4 separate regions of the Homo sapiens genome follow, and all the other regions are linked to region 2. Evidence: promoter capture Hi-C in human tissues and cell types (Jung and others, 2019). All regions are on one chromosome and are shown on one strand. The core of a region is centred on a gene start or on the middle of the fragment in contact, and the rest is flanking DNA. Distances in the headings are between cores, read along the strand shown. Region 1 overlaps CYTH1 (cytohesin 1). Region 2 holds the start of DNAH17 (dynein axonemal heavy chain 17). Region 3 overlaps DNAH17 (dynein axonemal heavy chain 17). Region 4 overlaps DNAH17 (dynein axonemal heavy chain 17).

Evidence for each region. Contacts are between HindIII fragments. The study calls those that stand out against the background at their distance.
Region 1: a fragment that was not itself captured here is called in contact with the fragment with the promoter of DNAH17 in region 2 in 3 of the 25 tissues and cell types used here (mesendoderm cells, pancreas and thymus).
Region 3: a fragment that was not itself captured here is called in contact with the fragment with the promoter of DNAH17 in region 2 in 2 of the 25 tissues and cell types used here (IMR-90 fibroblasts and pancreas).
Region 4: a fragment that was not itself captured here is called in contact with the fragment with the promoter of DNAH17 in region 2 in 5 of the 25 tissues and cell types used here (H1 embryonic stem cells, lymphoblastoid cells, mesendoderm cells and 2 more).

The regions. Positions count from the first base shown.
Region 1 is chr17:78,693,207-78,695,906 of GRCh38, reverse strand. All of the region lies in intron 10 of CYTH1 (cytohesin 1), which reads left to right. Among named protein-coding and RNA genes, the nearest start is that of SCAT1, 62 kb to the right of the region's middle. The HindIII fragment of the contact is 4,880 bases long and covers 1-2,700 here.
Region 2 is chr17:78,576,107-78,578,806 of GRCh38, reverse strand. DNAH17 (dynein axonemal heavy chain 17) reads left to right here and starts at 1,411. Exons shown (of 81, transcript NM_173628.4): 1 at 1,411-1,512. The HindIII fragment of the contact is 13,821 bases long and covers 1-2,700 here.
Region 3 is chr17:78,504,617-78,507,316 of GRCh38, reverse strand. It overlaps DNAH17 (dynein axonemal heavy chain 17), which reads left to right. Exons shown (of 81, transcript NM_173628.4): 29 at 1-39; 30 at 471-597; 31 at 1,872-2,024. Among named protein-coding and RNA genes, the nearest start is that of DNAH17-AS1, 21 kb to the right of the region's middle. RefSeq lists enhancers at 1-216, 1-531. The HindIII fragment of the contact is 9,772 bases long and covers 1-2,700 here.
Region 4 is chr17:78,486,487-78,489,186 of GRCh38, reverse strand. It overlaps DNAH17 (dynein axonemal heavy chain 17), which reads left to right. Exons shown (of 81, transcript NM_173628.4): 45 at 2,681-2,700. All of the region lies in intron 1 of DNAH17-AS1 (DNAH17 antisense RNA 1), which reads right to left. Among named protein-coding and RNA genes, the nearest start is that of DNAH17-AS1, 2.9 kb to the right of the region's middle. The HindIII fragment of the contact is 5,977 bases long and covers 1-2,700 here.

The DNA of each region.
Region 1 (2,700 bases), core at 35-2,534, 120 kb before region 2:
CGGTGGTAGTGTTAATGCTGCTTCTAACTTATTGTACAGTCCCTAGGGAACTGGTCAGGATCAGGGGTTTGGAGCAATTTTCGTTTTTCTTTTTTGGAGGAGTATATGTTATATTCATTACTGAATGCAGTAATGCAAGAAAACATACTAAGAGTGGGTTTGTAAAAGCAGAGGAAGTTTCCATGACATTTTCACTTGGAATTATTGGCTAAGACATGCGCTATGTTTGATATTCAATTTGACGTCCATTAATCAGCCTGATTGAAAGTTAATCTCTGACGTGGGGAAGAGGAGAAAGAAGAGAAGGAAGTCTTTCTTTTTTCTTCTTTTTTCAAGCTGAGACTTACTCCAGAGAGAACAAAGTCTTGACTTCCCAAAGCTATGGAAAGCTTCTGATTTACCATGATGGAAAAGCAAACTAGGGAAAGAACTAAATTAGATGATACTTAAGACATTTGCCTTTGCACGAAAAGGGGAAATGGTATTTCCTAAACTCAAAATGATACCGAGTGAAGGTGAAAAAAACAAGTCCAAACCAAAAAACCCTCCCTGAAGTCCTCGTGTTTAGTTTCCTGGGGATCAGAGAAGGGTATTAACAGCCTCGGCTCTGTTGTTATGTTTTGTTTTGCTCCCTCGCTTTTTCAGCGAGTCCTCGTTAAAGCCCCGAATCGGTCTCCTGGTTATGGTTTTGGTGTCTCCTCTCCATTTGCTGGTTTTTTTGGGGAAACATATTTTCTTAGCCCAAGACCCCTCAGGTTTGTGCCTAAGCATTCCCTGAGCAGTAGCTACACTTAAAAAGAACAACCCCAAACACGCACAGTTACTGAGATGCTTCAGGGACTTGTCAGGTTGTTCTCAACTGTAGGGGAAGATGGCATCCGGCCTTGATGTCTCGGGGAGGTCACAGGAGGCCTGAGGAGCCGTGCAGTGGGAGGTGGTCCTGTGAGTTCCACAGGGACTGTCCTAGGCGCACATTGATCTGTCTGCTTGTTTCATGTCTGCTTTTCTTTCCACGTGGAAATGTTCCCCGTGGGCCCACAGTGATGCTTTATGGTAGAGGTCTCTGTAATGCAACAAATTGTCCAGGCATAATAACCAAGCTTTTGTAATCAGGCAGAGAATTTCTTCTGGCTTTGCTTTTTCTCCTTGATTTCTTTCCATCTTGTTTCTTTTAGCATCTGACTCGCTTTTTCCATGATCTCCTATGTCCGAAGGGTTCCCCGGGTAGTGTCCTGTGATGGAGCGCATGGGAGGTCAGCATGGGTTGATGTTCCCTTTGTGCCGAGCCTCCGTGGGCAACCAATGGCCCGCCAGGCTGGAAGACCAAAGTTCTCAGACTCTGAATTGGTGGAGGGGGTTCCTTTTTAAGAACAAATTGGCTTCAATCCTGAATATAGTCCTTGCCTTCTTTATCCTCCTTATTTAATTCTGCCCGGGCTTTCCTGTTTTCCACATGCATGTCATAGTATCCATTTATGGTTTTCTCTTAATTCATGCCATCTAACCTTTAGGGACCAGTGGCAAGGGCTCACATGAAACTTAGAAGTTACTGGAGGGAGAGTCTCAATTTGCTTGATATAGCACAGGATGGGCAGGTGGAGGGCACGTGCTTGCTTACAGCAAATTCCCTCGCATAACCTAGATCTGTGTCATTTGGAATCTTGGCAATTAATGATCAGTCACGTAAGCCCGCCTAGGGTTCAGCATCCAAGCAGGGTGCTAAAAACTGGCCTGAAAGTCCAGTGGTCCTTTTACTTGTCTGCCAGGACCTACGCTGGACATTTTCTTTTCATAACATTATTTGCATACTCCCCTTAGGTTTCTCTGGTGTGAGCATGCAGGCAGGTCCTGGCAGTTAGAATAATCCCTGTAAAACCATTCTCCTCTTTGCTCAGCTATTTGTGATGAGGGCAAGAGAGAAAGCATGATCGGAGGTATGAGATTTATGCCCCATGATCCTTGCTATTTAGGAAGATTGGAGAAGCGGTATTGTCTGTAGGTTAAGTCTTAGCAAAAGAGCAGGCACAAGAAGTGTTTCTAGAATGCCATGCATAGCTTCACAGGTCAAGGCCTTAGGGATAAGTTTTGAGTGGTTCATGTTCAGAAAATGTTCCCTTGATGGGAGAGAGGTGGAGGAAGAGAAAGCCTGTGGTCCCGATTTGACAGCAGGTGTAGCTTCATTCAGATAGGCTTGGGGAAATTTTTCCTTCCTTCATGTCTGTCTCAGCATAACTTCACGGCCCCAACCCCAACTTTTTTTTTTTTCTTTTTTTTTTCTTTTTTTTTGAGAGGGAGTCTCCCTGTGTCACCCAGGCGGGAGTGCAGTGGTGCAATCTTGGCTCACTGCAACCTCCACCTCCCAGTTCAAGTGACTCTCATGCTTCAGCCTCCTGAGTAGCTGGAACTATAGGCATGTGCCACCACCCCTGGCTAATTTTTATACTTTTAGTAGAGATGGGGATTCACCATGTTGGCCGGCTGGTCTTGAACTCCTGACCTCAAGCGACCCACCCACCTTGACCTCCCAGAGTGCTGGGATTATAGACGTGAGCCCCTGTGCCTAGCCATGACCCCAGTGTTTTGTGCTGAGAAATACTAAAAAGAACCAAGGGAGGCCCTTGCCAGCCTCCCAGCCACCACCGCCAGAGCTTGTTTTGCCATGGCTGTATTTGCCAGCTGTTTCTGTTATAAGCTCCAGGT
Region 2 (2,700 bases), core at 162-2,661:
CTCAATCGTCCATAAATGGATGCATTTATTTCTGGAACCTCAATTCTATTCTAGTGATCTCTGTCTATTGTTATGCTGGTAGCACTGTCTTGATAACTGTAGCTTTGTAGTGAGTTTTGAAATCAGGAAGTGTGTGTCTTCAGACTTTGTTCTTTTTCAAAGTTGTTTGGATGGTTTTTGTTCCCTCATACTTCCCTATAAAATCTAGGGTCATTTCTACAAAAAAGGCAGCTGAGAGTTTGATAAGGATTGTGTTGAATCTGCAGATCAACTTGAGGAGAACTGTCGTCATCTTAACAATCTTCTTTTTTTTTTTTTTTTGAGACGGAGTCTCACTCTGTCTCCCAGGCTGGAGGGCAATGGCGGGATCTCGGCTCACTGCAAGCTCCGCCTCCCAGGTACATGCCATTCTCCTGCCTCAGCCTCCTGAGTAGCTGGAACTACAGGCACCCACCACCACGCCCGGCTAATTTTTTTGTATTTTTAGTAGAGATGGGGTTTCACCGTGTTAGCCAGGATGGTCTCGATCTCCTGACCTCGTGATCCACCCGCCTTGGCCTCCCAAAGTGCTGGGATTACAGGCGTGAGCCATCACGCCTGGCCCGTCTTAACAATCTTCTAACCCATGAACACAGCATGTCCTTCCATTGATTTAGGTTGTCTTTATTTCCATGATGTTTTGCAGTTTTCAGTGTACAAGTCTTAACACTTCTTTTTAAAGTTTATTCCTAAGTATTTTGTTGTTTTTGACGCTATTGTAAACGAAATTATTTTGATGCTGTTGTAAATGGGAGTTGTTTTCTAAATTTCATGATCAGATTGTTCATTATGGGGACAATTGTTTTCTAAATTTCATCATCAGATTGTTCATAATATAATTACAGAGAAATATAATTAATTTTCAAATATCTTGTATACTGCAAACTTGCTGAATTCCTCTATTAGCTCTACAATTTTATGGATTTCTTGGGATTTTCTACATACAAGATCACCTTATTGTAAACAGAGATAATGTCTTCCTTTCCACTTTGGGAGGATTGCTTGAGGCCAGGAGTTTGAGACCAGCCTGGGCAACAGAGTGAGACCTCATCTCTACAAAAAGTACAAAAATTAGCCAGGTGTGGTGATGTGCGTCTGTTGTCCTAACTTCTCAGGAGGCTGAGGGGGGGGGATCACGTAAGCCCAGGAGTTTGAGGCTGCAGTGAGTTATGATTGTACCACTGCACTCCAGCCTGGGTAACAGAGCGCGACCCTGTCCCCCCTCCAACCTCCCCTCAAAATGATCATCTAAGAGCCTTTCCACTGTGGGGTGACGGTTGGTTCCTCATTTGCTGCGCTATCATTGGTTACTTGGGTCCCAAGGGGAAGGTTCTAGAAGCCCCAGGTACCGTGAGGAGACTCCCAGAAGTTATGTGGCAGTTGGAGCCCCTCGAGGGAAGGGAGCCATTTTCTTTCCTGGTTTGGGAAAGAGTTGCTCATCAGTTTGCGGGAGAAGCTGTTTGCCTTCAGCTGGTGAGCGGCCTTCAACCATGCTGGGGGAGTCGGAGGCCAAGGTGGAGGGAGCAGGGAGGCCTTCAGAGGATGGAGGTGGGACCTAGGCCCTGGCAGACAGCAGACCCTCCACTTACCCCAGAAGTGGCTCTGCTCGCCACCGGGAGCTGTTCATGGCTCTGGGACCCCGAGGCTGGCTGCCACGTACCAGCCTGACCCCTTCCAGGGCTCCAGACTCTTCCCTGCTCCTGGGAAGGCCTTGCCTCAGCCCCCTGGCTTCTCCTGGAAGCCCCTAGCCCCAGCTTCCTCCTGTGGAGTCCTGAAGGCCTGGGGCATGGGCCACCTCCCAGAGAAGCCGTCTCTGCCCCTCCGGAAGCATGGCCTGGGACAACCCTATTGTTAACTGGGACCTCCTGGCCTTCAGCCCAGGAAACGGCTGGGTGGGAGCCTGAGATGAGACCTCCCGATCGTGCAAGAAACTTGCGGGGTGTAGGGGCCCCTCAGCCCACACATGTTATGGCTTGGGAGGCAGCCCACCCCATGCCGTTCTTGGAAGAAAAGATGACTTTGTGAAAGCCCAAATCCACAAAATCAGTAAACCAGAGGATGTTTCCCTCCAGTCCAGTCGCCTGACCAGCTTGGCGAGACTTCCAATCAGGAACCTTCCAGGACTCGGGCTCCCCTGAGTTCCTGATCCCCCTAGGAAATGACGACGTGACGCGTCCCCGGGTCTCGGAGATCCTGGGTGGAGATTAATTCAGCAGCATGCTGAAAGCCCTGTGGGAACCTGGTGAACGAGTCATCTCCATAAATGCCACGCGGTGCTCCTCCTACTTGCCTGGTGGTGTCCCCTTTTTCTTTCACAGATGTGCCTGAATCGGGTGGCTTTGCTCGTGGACCGCCATGTTTCTGCCATTTGCTGGCCAAATATTCCCCAAGTCCTCTCTCAGAGATGTTTGGAGCCTTGAATAAATCTCAGACCATTTGAATAGCATCCAAATGCTATCCACTACTGCTTCCCATCATATAGTTGTTTTGCCGATATATAGTGGCCAGGGTGAAATAAACCTGTTCCGTGGTATTACGTGTCTTTTGGGGAACTGTAGGCTGTTACAAACTTAAAAGCAATAGCTTGGGTCAAACCAAAAGGCAGAATTTGTGAGTGCTTCCAACGTCATCTGTCCACCCTGATGCTTTTCAGCAGCTGCC
Region 3 (2,700 bases), core at 185-2,684, 72 kb after region 2:
ACCCGGCCTCTACAATAAACTGGAGGCCCTGAAGAAGAGGTGCGGCTCACACCTATCCAGACCAGGGGAGTCAGTGGTGCAGATTCCCTAAGTCTTAAGTCTGACGGAACTTAAGTCTTGTGCAGCCTGCTGGCCAGGACAGGGCAAAACCATGGGTCCTGGGTTAATCAATTGCCTTTCCCTGGGGAGCACACACTCCCCGGCCTCATCCCACCACGTGATGCCTTGGCCTTGAAGGAAGCAATGACCCGGAGAATAAATGATGCTCCCTCTTGCCTAGGAGTGCCCACAAGGTCAGGGGATGGCAAAGAAACGAGAGCCTCCGGTAGGAGATTCTGAATTAAACCAGGCCTGTGAACAGCAGTCCAGGCATCTCCAGGATGATCAGTTTCCTTCGCCGACAGGGTGGGTGGCAGACATCCCTACAGAGTAGGGTCACCGGCCTCCTCTACTTCCTTCCTTCCTCCCAGCTTGGCCATCTGTGAAAAGGCTTTGGCAGAGTATTTAGAGACGAAAAGACTGGCTTTCCCCCGGTTCTATTTTGTCTCCTCGGCTGACCTCCTGGACATTCTCTCCAATGGCAATGACCCCGTGGAGGTAGGCGGGGCCCCTTGCATTCCGGTGTTTAAGCCAACATCATGCCAGACCCCAGGTGGGCACCTCTACCTCAACCGCCCTAGGGTGGGGTAAGTGTCCTTGGACGTGCCCCATCATCTCCAGGAGGCCCTCTGCACCAGAAGCTGCCCTGGGGTCCCCAGCCATGGCAGAAACGTGGCAGGACTCGCCTCACATCCTGCTCTGCACTTGGCCTGGCTTTTGAGAAGTTAATTTGCCTCTCTGTGCCTCATTTTCCCCTTCTAGAAAATGGGTCGTATGCCAGAGGCTTAGTAAGACACTGTTTCTGAAAGACACACCTCTCAGTGGGTCTTGCTCTGGTCAGCTGGTTAAATCTCAGGGTCCCAAGAGCAAGGAACAGGTGCCTCCTTGGGGCTATTCTAAAAGAGAAAAGAGGTCAGGCACAGTGGCTCACACCTGTAATCCCAGCTACTCAGGAGGCTGTGGCATGATAATTGCTTGAACCCGAGAGGCAGAGGGTTGCCGTGAGCCAAGATCGCACCACTGCACTCCAGCCTGGGCGACAGAGTGAGACTCTGTCTCAAAAAAAAAAAAAAAAAATTAACTAGGTGAAGGGAAAGCGCTTGCATTTTATTTTGACCGTAAGGTTAGAGGTTACACAAGAAGAAGGGATATGCAAGAATAGACTGAGTGTGTGGCTTGGGATCTGGGACAGAACCTTCTCAAAAAGAAGAAATCTTATTTATTAATTTTTTTTATTTTGAGATGGAGTTTCGCTCTTGTTGCCCAGGCTGGAGTGCAATGGCGCGATCTCGGCTCACCACAACCTCTGCCTCCTGGGTTCAGGTGATTCTCCTGCCTCAGCCTCCCAAGTAGCTGGGATTACAGGCATGCACCACCACGTCTGGCTAAGTTTGTATTTTTAGTAGAGATGGGGTTTCTCCACATTGGTCAGGCTGGTCTCGAACTCCTGACCTCGGGTGATCCACCTGCCTCGGCCTCCCAAAGTGCTGGGATTACAGGTGTGAGCCACCATGCCCCACCAAAAAGAAATCTTCCAGAATGGATGTTTGGCTTAGAAGGGCTGCGGTTCCTGGCCTGGTTTCTGTGTCCTGACTCAGAGCAGTCTTCGCTGGTTCCTTTTGTTGACTTAGTCATGTTTAGTCAACGTTGATCAAAGATGGGGAGTATATTCCAAAAAGAACGATGCCTAAAACCACCCACGGAAAGCCCAAGCCACGCACATGCCTTTCAAATCCCCCGTTGCATAATTCCCGCTTCTTGCCTCCTCCCAGGTGAGCCGCCACCTGTCCAAACTCTTCGATAGCCTGTGTAAACTGAAGTTCCGGCTCGATGCCAGTGACAAACCTCTCAAGGTGGGCCTGGGAATGTACAGCAAGGAGGACGAGTACATGGTTTTTGATCAGGAATGCGACCTCTCGGGGCAGGTGAGTGTGTGCGCACACCACACAGGGAACCCAGGACAAGGGTGCAGCACGCGTGTGGGCCACACGCCCTCAGATGGCGATGTCCGGAGAACCAGCACCCTGTGCAGCTGCCAGCCCGCCCCTGCTCCTCTCCTCTCCCTCTCTAGAAAACACTTAAGGGATGGGCCTCTTTATAGAATTTCCAGCCCAGCCTTACCCATATAGCACCAGTGTATCCTTAGGGAGAAAGGGGAGGGGAAAGGACGGGAGAAAAGCCCTGTTCGGGAGGCTGAGGCAGGAGAATCGCTTGAACCCGGGAGGCAGAGGTTGCCGTGAGCCAAGATCGCGCCACTGCACTCCAGCCTGGGTGACAGAGTGAGACTCCGTCTCAAAAAAAAAAAAAAAAAAAAAAAAAAAAAGCCCTGTTAATATCATTGAATCCTTTCCATGGCTTTTGCCAAAGGGACTGCTTTAAAAGGGGTTGCACATCTCTGAACTGCCAATTCCCATCACCTGTCTGAAATAATCGGCTGCACAGCCCACCACTCAGAGTGGTCTCCACAGCCTCTTCCTTCCCCAGCAAGCGCGTCCCCCGGCTCAGGGCGGGCTCCTTCTGCCGTCAGAAAACTTCCGGGCTGCCCCCTCCCCTGTCTCATTACCCAACTATTGATCAAGCAATAGAAACCATTTTAACATC
Region 4 (2,700 bases), core at 1-2,500, 89 kb after region 2:
GCAGCACAGTGTGGCCAGGGTTTGAGAGGGATACCAAGTGGAATGTTCCCTATGGGGACAGGGCCAGGAGCTGCTGAGCCTGGGTGCCTCTGTGCCGGCTTCTCCAGCAACACTTGCCTGCTTATACAGCATTCTCCAGCTGCTGAAACAATGACCACTAATGGGGCAGCTTCAAACAACAGACATTTATCCTCTCCCAGTGCTGGAGGCCAGAAGTCAAGGAGTAGGCAGTGCTGGTTCCCTCTGAGGCTCTGCGGGAGAACCTGTCCCAGGCCTCTCTCCCAGCTCCTGGGGGCTCTCGGCGGTCCTTGGCATCCCTTGGCTTATGGACACACCCCTCCCATCTCCGCCTCTGTCTCCACGTGGCCTTCTCTGTATGTCTGTGTCCAAATTTCCCATTTGCTTATAAGGACACAGTCATTGGATTCAGGGTCCACCCTAAATCCAGGATGATCTTGTCTCAAGATCCTTGATGACATCTGCTAATGCCCTTTCTCCAAATCAGGGCACATTCTGGGTTCTGGGTGGACATTCTTTTGTAGCACCACCATCCTACCCACTGTACCATGTGTGGGAGTTTTCAGGGTAGGCAAAGACAATGTCCGGGGAACTGAAATGAAGCCTGGGTAGGAGCTGCTGAGACACGGGGACAGGAAAAAGACAGGATCGTGGAGTCCTCAGGGGGACACCCTATGGGAGCAGAGAAGAGGGAGCCAGAAACGAAGGCAGCGTGGGCCAAGGCAGGAACTGGACACCTCCAAGGAGTGACCTGGAGGAAGCAGGAGGAGGAGACCTGAGTATTGGCAGAGGAGAGAATGGAAATGGGCGAGAAGCAGACACAGGGTCCCCAGACAGCAGGAGCAGCCCTCCTATAGGCAACTGCCAGGGGCAGGGATGCCGGATGCACCCAGGATGGCCTTGGGGACAGGGCAAGAAGCCGTATGGACCAGAGGTGAGAAAGTCGGCCTGTCTCGCAAGCATGTGTCTCTCCTGGGGCCTGTGCTACGCATATCAGAGACAGCACACACACCGACCCGCACTCAGTGACTCCTACCAAGGCAGCATCACAAATTTTTGACACAAACATCTTCAAAGTAGAAGGCAGAAAGCAGCAGCCTCTGCGTAGATTTGCAAATCAATCTCCCCTACTGAAGACCAACTGGACTTGGAATTCAGTTCTTAGTTGCGACAGGCATGGAGACACCCTGATTCGCTTAGGGACATAGAAAGGTTTACTCTATTACGCTGGATAATACAGGGTGCTATGCGGCAAAGACGTTCAGCTCTTAATTCTCTCTTGTGATAGAGGTTCAGGAAGAAGCGGAGCTCCCCCAGAGCACACTCACAGAAGAGTGTGTGTCTGGCCAAGCACAGTGCCTCATGTCTGTAATCGCAGCACTTTGGGAAGCTGAGGCGGGCAGATCATCTAAGGTCAGGAGTTCAAGACCAGCCTGGCCAACGTGGCGAAACCCTGTCTCTACTAAAAATATGAAAATTAGCCAGGTGTGATGGTGCACGCCTGTGATCCCAGCTACTTGGAAGGCCGAAACAGGAGAATTGCTTGAACCCAGGAGGCAGAAGTTGCAGTGAGCCGAGATCGCACCCCTGCACTACAGAGCAAGACTCCATCTCAGAAGAAGAAAAAAAATGAGTCTCTGTCTAAAGAGGCACGTCTGCCGGTCAGCGCAGGGCAGGCTGGCTGTGTGTGTTAACAGGAGCTTCCTGCTTAGGCCCTGGGCATCCTGGAAATGATGCACGTGCTGAGCTCACTGGCACTCGAGGGGGCCAGGCACTAGTGATGCTTTCAGCAGATGCTGATTTGGCAACACTTACCCTGGACCAGGCCCCCTTCTCTGAGCTTTAAAAATATCAGCCCATGTAGTCCTTGGAAATGAGGGTCATGGAAACATCACCCCTGTTTACAGATGAGAAACCAGGGACTCAGGCATGTGCAGTAACCTGCCTAAAGCAGCAGCTGGCCATGGTAGAGCTGACTCAAGCCTGGGCAGTCAGGCCCCAGAGTCCACACCCCTCACCGCCGTGGTGGGCCACCTCCACACGAGCCACCCAGAGATGTCTGTGGCCAACAGTCTGGCACGGCTCTTCAAGGATTGCTGGTTGTATTGATTTGTACTCTTACACTGAACATGGCAAATTCAACTCAAACTAACTGAAGCTTAAAAAAAAAAAAAAAAAAAAAGCACCAAGGGGTGCTTCAGGCATGGCTGGATTCAGGAGTCCAGATGATGTAATGAAATGTCCCTGCTCCTATCCTTGTCTCTCCTTTCTGCTCCCTTACTGTCCCCACCTTCGTGCCCCCCACATGACATCATGAGATCTTTCTCCTTTTCTGTTCTGCCCCATCCACCAGCCCTTGGTATGTGCTTCCCGTGTGGTAGCAAGAATGGCTTCCAACTGTTCTAGACCTACAGCACCCCCATAGCTAGCAACCCCAGAGAGGGCACAGCCCCCACGACCCTGGCATCCTCCTCCGACCCTTTCAGGGCCTGCAACTGGCCCCTCTGGCACCCTCGTTTGGACCCATTGCCATGCAGGCATGGTGACCCTGAGGGCAGCCCCAGCAGAATTGGGTGGAGGTAGGGAGGGGCGTTTACCAAGGCAGGGACACTGGCAGACCCAGAGCAGCGGCTGTGTCATCGGCGCCTCCTGTCACCCCCAGGGTGGTGAGCAGCTGGATCG